Regions from separate parts of the Homo sapiens genome. Here region 2 is linked to region 1. The links are contacts of gene promoters, found by promoter capture Hi-C in human tissues and cell types (Jung and others, 2019). All regions are on one chromosome and are shown on one strand. Each heading gives the region's core, a stretch centred on a gene start or on the middle of the fragment in contact. The rest is flanking DNA. Distances are from core to core; before and after follow the strand shown. Region 1 holds the start of SOX12 (SRY-box transcription factor 12). Region 2 has its middle 7.8 kb from the start of SCRT2.

Region 1 (2,578 bases), core at 20-2,519:
ATCATCTCGGTAACCTCGGGGGTGCAGTAGTCCGGGAACTCGAAGTGCGACGTGCCCGAGGGAGGCTGCAGGTCCGGGTCGCGATCCAGGGCGCTGCAGTCCAGGCCGGCCGGGCCAGGGGGCAGCCTGGACAGAAAGCCCAGCGACTCCTCCCCCGACGCCACCGTCTCCTCTTCACCTTCCTCAGCCGCTGCCGCCTCCTCCTCCTCTTCCTCCGGCTCCTCGTCCTCCGACGGTGTCGGGGAGGCGGCGGCGGCGGCGGCCGCCCCCTCGCCCGACGGCCCTTGGGCGCGCTCCGCTTGTCCCCGAGCGGCCCGTCCCGCCGGGACCATCCTCCACAGCTCCCGCCCCGGGGTCTCGACCAGGCGCACTTCCAGCAGCTCCTCGTCGTCGTCTTCATCGTCGTCCTCGGGCGCCGCCGCCCCGCCCCCCAAAGGCCCTCCCGCTGCTCGGCGGCCCCCGCGGCCAGGCAGCTGCGGCCCGGGCTTGAGCCGGCTGCCGCCACCGCTACCACCGGGGGGGCGGGGCCGCGCCTTGGCGGGCGCCCCCTTGCTCTTTTTGCGCGGCCGGTACTTGTAGTCCGGGTAATCCGCCATGTGCTTGAGCCGCAGCCGCTCCGCCTCCCGCACGAACGGGATCTTCTCCGAGTCCTGCAGCAGCTGCCAGCGGCGGCCCAGGCGCTTGGAGATCTCGGCGTTGTGCATGTCGGGCCACTGGTCCATGATCTTCCGCCGTTCGTGCTGCGACCACACCATGAATGCGTTCATCGGCCTCTTGATGTGGCCGCTCGGGGTCTTGCACCAGCCGGGCTCGCGCGCCCCCTCCTCGGCCGGCCCGGGTCCCGGGGGCGGCGGCCCGCCGTCCCGCTTGGCCCTCGCGCCCCGCTGCTGCACCATCGCGCCTGGGCCCGGGGCCGCTAGACGCCGCCGGGGGCCGTCCGCATCCTCCGCGGCTGGGGGTGGGGGAGGAGGCAGCGGCGACGGAGGGGCGGCCCCGCCCCGCGGCTCGGCCCGGCCCCCGCGAACTGGGGAGCGAGGAGCTGGGCGCTCGGGCCCAACGGACGGCGGGGGGAGAAGGTCAGCGCGGTCTCAGGCGGGCTCGGCGCGCCCCCGCCGCCTCCGGCAAGTTGCGTCCTGGCTCACAACACACATTGTTTTGCGGGGGCCGAGGAATCGCACCCTCCGGGCCCCCGCGGGCTCTTCCTGCAGCCTCTGGCTCCGCCGCGGCCCGCGCGCGCCGCTCCCCGCCCGGCCGCCGACGCCTTTCAGTGTCTTTCTCCCCGCGCGGCCCCGCCGGCGCGCGCACCACCCCTCCCCCTCGCCGTCTGCGGGCCGCTGCGGCGCGCGCGGGGCCGCCCCGTGTAAACACCGAGGTGCCCGCTTGGGCTGCGGCCGGGCCCCGCCTCGCGCTCGGGCGCCGCGTCACCCGTTGCTGGGCAGAGAAGCCGGTATTTGCATCTCCCAATCGCTGGCCGCCGGAGCGGGGCGGGGCTCGGGCTGCGGGGCTGGGCGGTCTCGCGGCTAGGATTGGGGGAGACCGGCGAGATCGGTTTCTTTTCTTAGGTTAGGGGTTGGAGGAAGGGTAGGGGACGCGAGCCTGCTTCCATCTGACGCTGGACGCTTGTCCCTGCCCCGCGTTGCCTTTTAAATTTTAGCTCATTCCGAGACACCTGCCGTCAGGTAGGATTTCCGCCCTTTCCTCTTTCAGGGACGTCTTTTCGGACCATCCCAGAAGAGAATTTGGGGGGCCCAAGACTCAGGAAAGCTTCTTAAGGGGACGAACTCAGGTTGTCGTAGATGTTGCCCCCCGCCTACTACACACAGGGTCCGACCACATATGGGACCAGCAAATGCTTTTGGACCTAGTGAACAAATCCCTTTCTCATATATATGTATATTTAATCTCGTTCGAAGCTCCATAAGAATCCGGAGGGAGAAGGGAATATGATAATATGATGCCCAGTTTCCAAATAGGAAGCACCGAGGACACGCAGACTAGGATTCGATTCCCAGGCTCGCGGTCCCAGCTGTCTCTCCCCTGCTCAGCACCAAGGGCCGCGGGGCACCTCGCCTGCCAGCCAAAGGTCCTGAGCTGGGCGGACTTCCCGCTTTTCACAAACCGCAGGCGACATTCGAGGATGCGTGGGTGCGCCATTCCCAGGTCCTACCCCACCCCGTAGCCTGCCCGGTGCCCGACTTGGGCGCGTCGCCCCACCCAAGCCTGGAGAAGCGTGCAGGGGCACGGGGCGGAGCCAGTCCTGGGGGCGTGGCCGGGTGGCCGGCACGAGGCGCGTGGCGGGGAGGGGCCGCGCGCTCCCGGCTCACCACGTGTGAGCCAGTTCGGGCACCACTGGGCGTGTGCCGCCCCTGGGGGAGGTCACCTTCACGGCGTCGTGAGCATGGGCGATGGGAGGGGGCGCTGAGGCCTCGCCCTTGGGAAGCAGGAGCTGGGAGGTGCCCGGATTAGGGTCTTTAAGGTGGCATTCCGCTGGGGCGTAGCGGGCATGGTTTGGGGCTAGGAGAATGCGCCTCTGGCGGTACAGCTCACCCACTTCTGGACGAGCGAAGGCCAAGAGCCG
Region 2 (2,578 bases), core at 22-2,521, 360 kb before region 1:
TCCACTGGCAAAGTCTGCGGTCAAGCACAGGTCAATATTGACAGCCCCCTGCCTCCATGCACCTGGGCCACCTCCTGGCTTTCTCTAGAAGCTGATGAGTCCCAGCTGGTATATGAGCAGAGGCAGGGAGCAGGAGGCAGAGCCGGGGCTGCTGAGAGGGGTTGATTCCTCTGTGCCAGGAGTCCTGGGAGCCTGGAAATGCCAACTCTGCAGCTCCATTGCCACCTCAGCATCTCCCAGGCATGGTTCTGAGCTCGGCTGGTGGGGAAGAGAGGGAGGCAAGAGAGGCCACCTTGGAGTGAGGAAGCCCATCCTGACTTGGCAGGGAGCCTGAATGTTCCAGGGAAAGCATTTCCCTGTCCCATGCCTCAGGTTCCACAACTGTCAAATGGGGGTGGGGAGGAGACAATGCTGTTATCTCAAAGGCCCTTCAAGTAGAGCTCCCACTTACCAAGGGCTGACTATACATGAAGCCCCCTACAGCCCTACTTAGCAGGTGCTCCCACTGGCCTCTGTTTACAGAGATGAAATAGAGCTGCAAAGAGGCAAAGTAACTTGCCCAGGGCCAACCAGCTTGAAGAGGCAGAGCCAGGATTAAAATTTGGCTCAGCCAGGTACAGTGGCTCACATCTATAATCCCAGCACTTTAGGAGGCCGAGGCGTGAGGATCACTTGAGGCCAAGAGTTTGAGACCAGTCTGGGAAGTATAGCAAAATCCCATCTCTACAAAGAGTTTAAAAATTAGCCAGGGCATGGTGGCATGCACCTGTAGTCCCAGCTGCTCAGGAGGCTGAGGGAGGAGGATCACTTGACCCCAGGAGTTCAAGGCTGCCATAAGCCATGATCACAACACTGCACTACAGCCTGGATGAGAGCAAGACCCTACCTCTACAAAATAAAAATAAAAAATAAAACTTGGCTCAGGGTGACCCAGGCCCAAACGCTGAGTTATCCCACTTGCTTGAATGGTGGGCTCTTGTCTAGGGGCTTTTGGCCAGCCCACCGCTAAACCATGCCAGAGGCCCACCCCAAATACCCTGACCCCGCAGGCAGCCTGGTGATCAGACTCCTGATAGCCAATTCCTTCTTCCAGAGGTTTCAGAGACCTGCTTAAGATGGGACCTTGTCAGGGACAGGAGTTAGAATGTTTAGGGATGTCTCCAACTTTGAAAGAAAGACTTTTTTTCTTTTCTTTCTTTCTTTTTTTTTTTTTTTTAAGACAGAGTCTCACTCCATCACCTAGGCTGGAGTGCAGTGGCGCAGTCTTGGCTCACTGCAACCTCCTCCTCCCAGGTTCAAGCGATTCTCATGCCTCAGCCTCCTGAGTAGCTGGGATCACAGGCACGCCCCATCATGCCCAGCTGATTTTTGTATTTTTAGTAGAGACAGGGTTTCACCATGTTGGCCAGTCTGGTCTCGAACTCCTGAACTCAGGTGATCCACCCGCCTCGGCCCCCCAGAGTGTTGGGATTACAGGCGTGAGCCACCGGACCTGGCCTGAAAGAAAGACATTTTAATGGAGGAATACCAATGTCTGTAACAGTCAAGATAGAAATCTAATTATCACCCAAAACAGAGGGATATCTTGACGGTTGACACGTCAACCTGGCTCTGGTCAAAGGGGACCAAGGTGACTGCGGGTCGCAAGAAGGTTTTTCACTCATTAGTTTATTCATTCAATTGATGTATTTACTGAGCACTTACTATTTACCCGGCTCTGGGTAGACGATGGAGGTGCGGCAATGAATGGAGCAGATCCGGAATCCCACTCAAGGAGCTGTCAGCCCTGGCAGGGGGAAGGGGAGGGACATTCTTTGGAGGGCCCTCACCTACCCACCCTAGCATTGGTATCTTTTGCCCTCTTAGAGGGAAGGACTCATGGTTTAAGATCAGGACTTTGTAGCCAGGCAGCCTGGTTTAAATACTGACACCACTGATTCCTAGCTGGGTCTCCTTGGGCAAGTCACCTTGCATCTGTGAGCCTTGGTTTCCTCATCTGTAAAATGGGGATAGCCATGGGCCACACTCACAGGTTGTTATGATGGTTAAGTGAGGCAATCTATGTAAAGGGCTGGACTTGGCTCCTAGCACATAATAAGTGCTCAATAAATGTCAACTAGCTCCTTTCCACTACATATCACCCCTATCCTGGGCTAGATCCTGGGGTCAGGCAAGGGAGCGATGGGAGGAGGGGTTACCTAGGCAAGGAAGGGGGTGGAAGAGTGCTCTGGGCAGTGGGAACAATATATGCAAAGGCTTTGAGGTGGAAGTCTTTGAGGGAGCAAGGTAGAAGCTTCAGGGGGAGCTGGGACCCTGCTATGCCCCCAGCCACCACAGTAGGCCCCTTCCTGTTAAGGCTGTGAGGTCCTGAGCCAATGAAAAATGAAAATGGAAATGGTCCCAGAAATTGCCACCAAGGCATTTGCAGCTGGAGAGGAGGCAGTGTGGTGGAGTGGTCAGAGCAGAGCCTCCAAGCAGCTTGCCTGGGTTGGATTTGTGGCTTATCACCTACTGGCTGTGAAACCTTGGGCAACTTACTTAACCTCTTTGTGCTCAGTTTCTCCCTCTATAAAATGGG

What was found. The method cuts DNA at HindIII sites, captures the fragments that hold promoters and counts their contacts. A contact is called where the count stands out against the background at its distance.
Region 2: a contact is called between a fragment that was not itself captured here and the fragment with the promoter of SOX12 in region 1, in 1 of the 25 tissues and cell types used here (lymphoblastoid cells).

Annotation. Positions count from the first base shown.
Region 1 is chr20:324,243-326,820 of GRCh38, reverse strand. It overlaps SOX12 (SRY-box transcription factor 12), which reads right to left and starts at 1,269. Exons shown (of 1, transcript NM_006943.4): 1 at 1-1,269. The coding sequence starts at 896. It overlaps NRSN2-AS1 (NRSN2 antisense RNA 1), which reads left to right and starts at 1,569. Exons shown (of 3, transcript NR_109990.1): 1 at 1,569-1,679. RefSeq lists silencers at 140-629, 650-709, 780-1,159, 1,270-1,579, 2,140-2,399. The HindIII fragment of the contact is 5,512 bases long and covers 1-2,578 here.
Region 2 is chr20:682,350-684,927 of GRCh38, reverse strand. No RefSeq gene overlaps it. Among named protein-coding and RNA genes, the nearest start is that of SCRT2, 7.8 kb to the right of the region's middle. The HindIII fragment of the contact is 3,071 bases long and covers 1-2,578 here.